Linked DNA regions of Homo sapiens: region 2 is linked to region 1. The links are contacts of gene promoters, found by promoter capture Hi-C in blood cells and fetal thymus (Javierre and others, 2016). All regions are on one chromosome and are shown on one strand. The core of a region is centred on a gene start or on the middle of the fragment in contact, and the rest is flanking DNA. Distances in the headings are between cores, read along the strand shown.

Region 1 (4,970 bases), core at 465-2,964:
AGTAGGCAAATCAAAGAAGCAATCCCAAACAGATGCTATCTTTCAGAAATTAACAGATTATTTCACCTGCAACATATTCCCATCCTAGAAAGGGCATTCCTGCATTACAATCATTTATGCTTGGATAAAGGCAAAACGAACAGATGTCCAAGAACCACCCTCATTACCTGAGGCCTATGGCAGAAACATGTCTCCTTTCTTGGAGTCTGAGTAGACTTGATCAAAATCACCCACAGGTATAAATTCACATTATAATATCACACACCAAAGCCTCAGTGAATATCTTTATCTTGGACAAACATATGATCCATTCACTTAAAGGTGAAATCATGTGGTTGAACAAAGTATACTGCAATTCTGCTAAACTCATTTAGAAGCTGGCTCAAGGCCGGGTGCGGTGGCTCACGCCTGTAATCCCAGCACTTTGGGAGGCAGAGGCGGGCGGATCACTTGAGGTCAGGAGTTACAGACCAGCCTGGCCAACATGGCGAAACCCCGTCTCTACTAAAAATACAAAAAGTAGCCGGGCGTGGTGGCGCGTGCCTGTAATTCCAGCTACTCGGGAGGCTGAGGCAGGAGAATCGCTTCAACAGGGGAGGCGGAGGTCGCGGTAAGCCGAGATCGTGCCATTGCACGCCAGCCTGGGCAACAAGAGCGAAACTCTGTCTCAAAAAAAAAAAAAAAAAAAAGAAAAGAAAAAAGAATCTGGCTCAATATAGCTGTCCTCTGATAAAGCCCTGTGGCTCTCCTCCATCCCTTCGAACACACTCCTCCTTCCATTTCAGGCCCCAAGGCCTGTTCTGCAACTAATCTGACATCTTTCCATTACTTTGGAAGCCTAGGGCTCCACCACACCCTATCCCAACCAGATTTCTACCCTCCTACCAACAAACGTGCATGAGTTGACATACCAAACCAACTCTTAGGGCCAAACTAATCCTGTTCCCCCCAATTCTCGGAAACTCAAGCGTCCTAACAAATCTTAAGAGTCTGATGAGTCCATTCCTTTCCCTTGGAACGTCTGGCCCTTGCGTTGACCCCTCGGCTTCCATGGTCACAACTAGCTCTGGTTCTCCTGGCCCCTTCCTATCCCTCTCTTCGGGGCCTCTGCCAGAGCTCACACTGAACCTGTTTCCTCATCTGTAGGACCCTTGGAGGTTGGGAGGAGGCCTATATGACCCCCCCAATCCAACTCCGGATCTAACATTGAAGGGGCCCAGCATTCCCCTAGACCCTCACTCTTTCTCTTGCCCACGCCCCAAACTCCTTCTCCATCTAGGCTACCACCTCGCCCACGCGCCTAGCATCACCCGCCGCGGCCCAAGCTCCCCCAGCCCCTGCTTCCGGGCTTTCCTTGCAGTTCTGCTTCCGGCCCTCGGCCCTTCCCACAGCGGGGCGCCCCCGGCCCGCGCCCGGCCCCCGAGCCGCTCGCTCCCGGGCTCTCACCGCTCGAAGAGCAGCCTCACGAAGAAGATGCCCGCCGCCAGCGGGAACACCGAGAGGATGTGCCGGCCGCGGGGGTAACCGTAGCCGTCGGCCGGCCCCTCCAGATCAGCCCAGCTCACGTTCTCGGGTAGCCAGAAGCGCTCGCTCCACAGCCAGCCCCACAGCAAGCTTAGGGGTCCCTGCGCTGCTGTCGCCATCTTACGCCCACCCCGAAGCCACCGCCGCCACAAGCGTCAGCTGCCGCCACAGCCAACGGAACCCGCGGGGAGGCGGCCCCAGGGCGGGGCCCGGCCGGCGGCCACCCCCTTCCGGCCCCTTCTGGTCACTGCCACGGATCCGCCCGCCTCCCTGGCAGGGCCGGGCCTCTTCACCGCCCATCTCTCCTCCCGGCCCACTTCCCTCACTGCAACCCGGGGACCGCCTCCGGGGATCCACGCCCCTTCCCGAGCCTCTGACTCGCCCAGCCCGGCCCTGGGACCACGCCTCGGGCGGCCCTGGGCCCGCCCTCTTTTGCTGCTGGTCTAGGCCACGCTTCTACTCCTCCCTCACTCTTCCATCCAGCTACGGCCACACCCCTTATTTCAGGCCTAGCTCCTTTACGGGGACATTCTCCTTTCTCAGCCTGTTGGAATCGAATCCGTTCCGGCTCCCACCCAGGCGGTACCTCTGTCTCCACTCCCGGAGGCCAGATCGATCTCTCAGGTCAGGGCTTCTCTTGGATGTCAGCTGGTCCTGCCCACTACTGTCCGCCACTAGAGTTCTTTTCGCTCCCAACCTTTTCTTCCCTTCGTGCCCCGTGACCTCAGCCTACTTTCACTGCTTTATCCCTTAAAAATTAGTCACTTTTCCTCAGAAAAAATGGACTTAACAGTTTACAAAAGGCCGGGCGCGGTGGCTCACGCCTGTAATCCCAGCACTTTCAGAGGCCGAGGCTGGCGGATCACCTGAGGTCAGGAGTTCGAGACCAGCCTGGCCAACATGGCAAAACCCCGTCTCTACTAAAAATACAAAAATTAGCTGGGCCTGGTGGCGCTGTGCCTGTAATCCCAGCTACTCGGAAAGCTGGGACAGGAGAATCGCTTGAACCTGGGAGGCGGAGGTCGCAGTGAGCCGAAATCGCGCCATTGCACTCCAGCCTGGGCGACAGACCAAAGACTCCGTCCCAAAATAAAAATAAAAAAAGTTTACAAAAATCCTTTTATTCTTCTCTTGGGGAAAAGGAAATGGAAGAAAAACAAAGTGAAAAGGGAAGCACTCAAAAAGTATACGTAAAGGCAGGCCGGGTGTGGTGGCTCACGCCTGTAATCCCAGCACGTTGGAAGGCCAAGGCGGAAGAATCACCTGAGGTAAGGAGTTCGAGACCAGGCTGGCCATGGTGAAACCCCGTCCCTACTAAAAATACAAAAATTACCCGGGTGTGGTGGTGCATGCCTGTAATCCTAGCTACTCGGGAGGCTGAGGCAGGAGAATTGCTTGAGGCGGAGATCACAGTGAGCCGAGACCACGCCATTGCCCTCCAGCCTAGGCAACAGAGCGTCTCAAAACAAAAACAAACAAAAAAAGGCCGGGCGCGGCTCACGCCTGTAATCCCAACACTTTGGGAGGCCGAGGCGGGCGGATCATGAGGTCAGGAGATCGAGACCATCCTGGCTAACACGGTGAAACCCCATCTCTATTAAAATACAAAAAATTAGCCAGGCATGGTGGCGGGCGCCTGTAGTCCCAGCTACTTGGGAGGCTCAGGCAGGAGAATGGCGTGAACCCGGGAGGCGGAGCTTGCAGTGAGCCCAGATTGCGCCACTACACTCCAGCCTGGGCGACAAAGTGAGACTCGTCTCAAAAAAAAAAAAAAAAAAAGTATATCTAAAGGACCTAAAGGCAAAACAAAATAAATAGCCAATGTTTGATGAGGTTTCCTGTGTGCCAGGCACTGCATGGAACATTTTACACAGGTTATTTCACTCCTTCACCCTATAAAGTTGATCTTGTTATCCCCACTGGATAAGTAAACTGAGGTCCAGTGAGGCCAAACAACTTGCCCAAAGTTATGTAGGTAAGAAGTGGTAGCTAGTGTTAAGTCAAGTTTAATCTAAAGCTGCCTCCTTACATATTTAAGTTCGGCCTAAAGGTTTTCTGTACATTGTGAACTGTAACAAGTGGAGGTGTAAATCGAACGTAGACCACACCAGTGCCAATCACTGAATTTTGGCCAATCAAATGTAGCCAACTGTTCCAACCACGTTCAAATGAGACAAACGCTGATCTGTAACCAATCTGGTTGTTTCTGTACCTCACTTTCATTTTGCTGTCCATAAATCTTCCACCACGTGAATATGCTGGGTCTCTGTGGATATGCTGGGTCTCTCTGAATCTGCTGTGATTCAGGGGCTGCCCAATTTGAGAATCATACATTGCTCAAACTCCTTTAGGCTGGGCACGGTGGCTCACGCCTGTAATCCTAGCACTTTGGGAGGCCGAGGCAGGCGGATCACAGGTCAGGAGATCGAGACCATCCTGGCTAACATGGTGAAACTCCGTCTCTACTAAAAATACAAAAATTAGCTGGGCGTGGTGGTGCGTGTCTGTAGTCCCAGTTACTTGGGAAGCTGAGGCAAGAGAATCGCTTGAACCCAGGAGGCGGAGGTTGCAGTGAGCTGAGATAGCACCACTGCACTCTATCCTGGGCAACGGAGTGAGACTTTGTCTTGGAAAGAAAAAACAAAACAAACAAACAAACAAAAAACTCCTTTAAATTTGGCTGTTTTGTTTGTTTGCATGTTTTTTTGTGAGAAGGAGTCTCACACCCAGGCTGGAGCGCAGTGGTGCCATTTCTGCTCACTGCAACCTCCACCTCTGGGTTCAAGAGATCCTCCCTTCTCAGCCTCCCGAGTAGCTGGGACTACAGACACGTGCCACCACACCCGACTAATTTTTGTATTTTTTGATAGAGCCTGGGGTTTCACCATGTTGGCCAGGCTGGTCTCGAACTCCTGACTTCAAGTGATCTGCCTGTCTCAGTATCCCTGTTGGGAATGAAGTTTTTGGTGTTGCAAAAAGAAAAGAAAAGAAAACAAAACAAAAACAAAAAAACACGGGAACAAATGATCTCTCAGCAAGGAGAGCTTTACTTTCTGCAGAAAGGGTGCTGCTACTCAAAAGCTGTCTAGCCATGAGAGCACACCGAACAAAGGAGACAGAGTTATTTATAATCTGAGGTGTCTACCCTACTGCTGTGTCCATTTTCCATTGGCTGGAATAGGACCTCACATTTTACACTTTACCTGATTGGCTATTAGTTTAAAACTTTTAAAATTGGTTAAGGGGAACAGAACAAAGAAAGAAAAGGAAGTTGCCCAGGGATCATTAAGGAAGCATCACCAAATAAGGAATGGCATGCACTGTGGGCTGGGGCTTGTCTAGTTCTGTCCAGGCATGCAGGAGCAATCTAGGACAGCTGATTTGGAATACACACACACACACACACACACACACACACACACACACACATACATACACACACACAC
Region 2 (5,206 bases), core at 2,154-4,653, 270 kb after region 1:
GGAGAAGTCTTATTTACAGATAAGAATAATGGGCCAGGCGCAGTGGCTCATGCCTGTAATCCTAGCACTTTGGGAGGGCAAGGTGGGCAGATCATGAGGTCAGGGGTTCAAGAACAGGCTTGCCAACATGGTGAAACCTTGTCTCTAATAAAAAATACAAAAATTAGCCAGGTGTGGTGGTGGGCGCCTGTAATCCCAGCTACTCGGGAGGTGGCAGCAGGAGAATCACTTGAACCGGGGAGGTAGAGATTGCAGTGAGCTGAGGTTATTCCTGGGCTCCAGCCTGGGCGGCAAGAGCGAAATTCCACCTCAAAAACAAGGAAACAAAAACATTCATGTAATATTTACTTTAGCCTGTACTTTGGGAGGCCAAAGTAGGTGGATCACCTGAGGTCAGGAGTTCAAGACCAGCCTGGCCAATATGGCAAAATCCCATCTCTACGAAAATACAAAAATTAGCGGGGTGTGGTAGCGTGGCCCTGTAGTTCCAGCTACTGGAGGCTGAGGCAGGAGAATTGCTTGAACCCAGGATGTGGAGTATGCAGTAAGCCGAGGTTGCAGCACTGCACTCCAGCCTGGGTGAATTTTACCTACTAACTAGATCATTTATGGGTCTGCTTCTATTGTCTGGGTTTCTTCTCTTGAATTATCTGTAATAATTTACTGCCTTTTTGTATGTCTTGTAAATTTTGATTTTATGCTGTACATTACATACAACAGAACCATAGAAGATGTAGGTGATATAACTCTAGACAGAGTTTGAGCTTTTTTTCTGTTAGGCAGAGAGTGATATGTTGATTGCTTCAATCCAATCAGGAACTGAGCTAGGTCAGGGCTGAGCAACAATTTTAAATGGACTCAGTTCACCTTTGATTTAGCTCTATTCCTTCTACATGGCCCTTTCAGGCTTTTGATTTAGAGCTTGGCAGTTTTGTGTCACCCTAATCTTACAAAACCAAGGAGATTTAGATCTCTAATACAGAGGTTTGAGATTTAGCTCTTTAACTTCCTACCCCATACTGCTTGAAAATCTGGCAGTGTCTTGGCCTGGCGCAGTGGCTCACACCTGTAATCCCAGCACTTTGGGAGGCCAAGGCAGGCGGATCACCTGAGGTGAGGAGTTCAGTATTAGCCTGACCAACATGGTGAAACCCCATCTCTACTTAAATACAAAAAATTAGCTGGGCATGGTGGTATGCACTACTAATCCCAGTTACTCGAGAGGCTGAGGCAGGAGAATCGCTTGAACCCAGGAGGTGGAGGTTGCAGTGAGCCGAGATCGCACCATTGCACTCCAGACTGGGGAATAAGAGCGAGACTTCGTTTCAAAAAAAAAAAAAAAAAGAAAAGCTGGCAGTGTCTTATCGGGGAGACTTGCGTTTGCCGCATTTTTGCTTGCACTGGGACTTAATCACGAGACCACATAGATTTTACTGTCTTTTCAGCCTGACTCTCAATCTCCCATCTTCCTCCTTAAAACTCAGGAAACATCTTATGGGGAAAATCAGCTGTATTGGTGGCTCCCATAATTTCCATTCATAATTCTAGTTCTTTGCCCATTACACTTACCACATACTTATACACAACTGCCTGGAGATCTGCTGGTTTCTCTATTGTCCAGGAGAGTCTGAGTCAAGATCTGCAAATGCTCTCAGGAAGGAAAGATCTTCTTTGGGGCATTTTAGTCATTTTGTGCTTGAAGCTTCCACAGCTTTCCCAGATCTCCAAAAACGTGATTTTTTTTTTTTTTTTTTTTGTAGTTTATCCCAGCTTTTTTAGTTGTTGCAGTGGAAGCTCCTACTTGTCATGATCCATCACATCCTACTCAGGACTGTGATATAGTTCGAACCAGCTGGGTAATTGACATTTGTAGCTCAGCAAAATTGCCATTAATACATATCAGGTATTACTCATGAATAATCAAATCTTAGATGTTATATCCATTAATTTGATTTACTTCTGACAAGGTACAGTTTCTTTAGCTAAGAGTTGAATCACTGTTTAAGAATAGACCTGCTAAATTTCAGAGTTCATTTAGGCTACAGCTTTTTAGTTTTGCAAAAATTATGTTTATAGTTGTCTTATTTTCAGATTCTTAAGGAATATCTTTTTTTTTTTTTTTTGAGATGGAGTTCTCACTCTATTGCGTAGGCTGGAGTGCAGTGGCACGATCTCGGCTCACTGCAACCTCTACCTCCCGGGTTCAAGCGATTCTTCTGATTCAGCCTCCCAAGTAGCTGGGAGTACGGGCACGCACAACCGTGCCTGGCTAAGTTTTGTGTTTTTAGTAGAGACGAGGTTTTATCATGTTGGCTAGGCTAATCTCAAACTCCTGATATCAGGTGATCCACCCACCTTTGCCTCCCAAAGTGCTGGGTTTACAGGTGTGAGCCACCATGCCTGGCCTCTATTTTAATAGAATGTAAAAGTAAGGGCCTTTGAGCCTGCTCCTTGCCAGGCACTAGGCAGTTGAAATACATTATTGATTGAACAGCAGCGATCCTTCATGGAACCTATATTCTGACTGTGAGAACACAAAACAAACATAATAAATAAGGAGTATGTTAGGAGATAAGTGCTATGGGAAAAAAATTAAATGCAAGGACAGGAATCAGGAATGCTGGGGTGGTTGCAGTTTTAAATAGGGTGATCAGAACAGTACTCTTTGAGAAGGGGCCTTATAAGCAAAAACTTCCAGCTATTTATAGCCAGACTGCTTCAAAGAATATTTGATGTGAATAGCAAGGTGTGAATTTGATTTTACCTAAGTTTATTAAACAAGATTTTATGTGTAAGATGCAAGTGTTTGCATCTTCTTTTTTTAATGTACCTTAAAGAATCTTTTGTGTTAATATTAAATATATATTTTTTATTTTTCTTTTTTTTTTTTTGTTTATGTTTTGAGATGGAGTTTCGCCCTTGTTGCCCCAACTGGAGTGCAGTGGCGTGATCTCGGCTCATTGCAATCTCCGCCTCCCAGGTTCAAGCGATTCTCTTGCCTCAGCACCCCGAGTAGCACCCACCACCAAGCCTGGCTAATTTTTTGTATTTTTAGTAGAGACGGGGTTTCACCATGTTGGCCAGGTTGGTCTTGAGCTCTTGACCTCTAATGATCCACCCGCCTCGGCGTCCCAAAGTGCTAGGATTACAGGCATGAGCCACCGCACCCAGCCAATGTGTGTATTTATATAAGCATGTTTGACTTAAATAATTTAAAACACGTATTTTGGACAGGGTGCGCTGGCTCACGCCTGTAATCCCAGCACTTTGGGAGGCTGAGGCGGATGGATCACGAGGTCAGGAGATCGAGACCATCCTGGCTAACACGGTGAAACCCCGTCTGTACTAAAAAATACAAAAAAAAATTAGCCGAGCGTGATGGCGGGCGCCTGTAGTCCCAGCTACTCGGGAGGCTGAGGCAGGAGAATTACTTGAACCCGGAAGGCAGAGCTTGCAGTGAGTCGAGTTTGCGCCACTGCGCTCCAGACTGGGCAACAGAGCAAGACTCTGTCTCAGGAAAAAAAGAAACAGAAATGGAAAATCCTTCTTGAGTCAGTTCACAGTTCAGCTACAGTTTTTATCATGCATATTCTAATATCACTGATGAAGTATTTATAAGATGGAACTCTGCTATATGTAATGTTTTGTTAAAGTGCTACTTGTAATATTAAACCTCTTTATGTATCAGTATAATTGTCCAATGTTGTGCTAGATGTGTTTGGGAATTGAGATACTGTAAAAGTTATATTAACTAATGTTTATGTATATATTACATTAGTATCTTTTGAATTGAACTTTTAACAACTTTTTAGAGTTCACTGAAAAGTTTAATGTTATTTCTGATAGAATAATCTTATTTCCATGCATTTAAAAAGTAGGAAAAGTGAGTAAGATACCTCTTGTTAGATGCTTTTTAATAATTGCTTGTTTTATAGGACTATTTTGTTTTTTCAGAGAAAATTTGTCAAAGGATCTTTACTTGATATCTCAAATGGATAGTGATCAGTTCATCCCAATTTGGACAGTTGCCAACATGGAAGAAATAAAAAAGTTGACTACAGACCCTGATCTAATTCTTGAAGTGTTAAGATGTATGTAAAAATACCTTTTAGCTTTTTTTTTAATTTTTAAACGTAAAATGTTATTTCGACTTCTGATCATATAGGGAATTATTTTTACTGCCCCCTCCCCACACCCTTATTTTGTTGTTTTGTTCCGAATTCTCTCTCTTTGTTTTTTTTTTTCGGGGGTTGTGGTGAAAGACAGGGTCTCACTCTGTCACTCAAGCGGGAGTGTGATGGTGCAAATCACAGCTCACTGCAGCCCCAAACTCCTGGGCTCAAGCCATCCTTCTACCTCGTAGCCTCCCAAGTTACTGGGACCCCAGGCGCACACCACCACATCTGGCTAATCTTTAAATTTTTGTATAGAGGTGGGGTCTTGGTATGTTCCCCAGGCTGGTCTTTGTTCTTTGGCTGAGTCAGTCCTCCCACCTTGGCTTCCCATTTTTACTGACTCTGTGTGTGTGTGTGTGTGTGTGTGTGTGTGTGTGTGTGTGTATCCCGCTGGTGTGTGTGTGTGTGTGTGATATGTGTGTGTGTGTGTGTATATATCCCGCTGGGGTGTGTGTGTGTGTGTATGTATATATATATATATATATATCCCGCTACTGACTGGTGTGTGGGGGTGTGTGTGTGTGTATATGTGTGTATGTATATATATATATATCCTGCTCAGCCTCCCAAAATGTTGGAATTACAGGCGTGAGCCACCACCCCCGGCCTATATACAGCTTCTGTAATAATTCTGCACCTTGGTTGTTTATCATCATGCCCACTTAAGAAGTATAAGCAATTAAGTCTCATTTTTCTGGAGTGTTAGATATGTATCGTTATCACACAACCTTTAAGACAATCTCTTTCAAGTTTTTAAACCCAAATAAGAAGTACATTTTTCGTGACAGTTCAATATACACCATATACCTACACCTGACCGAAATATTTGTAACAAACTTGTTTCTAATTTTACAACCTACTAATGAGTTGCTGTGGGCAGTTTGACAAATACTGCTCTGAAGTTTGGTAATGAATTTTTATTTCTTGATTGAAGCTTTAAGAATTTTTGCTGGATTTTGTGTCTTGTATCAGTATTTCTTGGTAACCTCTTAAGAGTGGGTTTTGTTAACTATTTGACTGAATAAGGCAGA

Evidence for each region. Contacts are between HindIII fragments. The CHiCAGO score rates a contact against its expected background, and 5 or more counts as called.
Region 2: a fragment that was not itself captured here is called in contact with the fragment with the promoter of CERS5 in region 1 in 1 of 17 cell types (M2 macrophages); the score reaches 5.1 in M2 macrophages.

Annotation. Positions count from the first base shown.
Region 1 is chr12:50,165,655-50,170,624 of GRCh38, forward strand. CERS5 (ceramide synthase 5) reads right to left here and starts at 1,715. Exons shown (of 10, transcript NM_147190.5): 1 at 1,447-1,715. The coding sequence starts at 1,643. RefSeq lists enhancers at 1,062-1,201, 2,092-2,251, 2,303-3,064 and silencers at 1,342-1,491, 1,592-1,991. The HindIII fragment of the contact is 9,101 bases long and covers 1,613-4,970 here.
Region 2 is chr12:50,431,534-50,436,739 of GRCh38, forward strand. LARP4 (La ribonucleoprotein 4) reads left to right here. Exons shown (of 16, transcript NM_052879.5): 5 at 3,955-4,091. Among named protein-coding and RNA genes, the nearest start is that of SNORD133, 22 kb to the right of the region's middle. The HindIII fragment of the contact is 3,407 bases long and covers 1,701-5,107 here.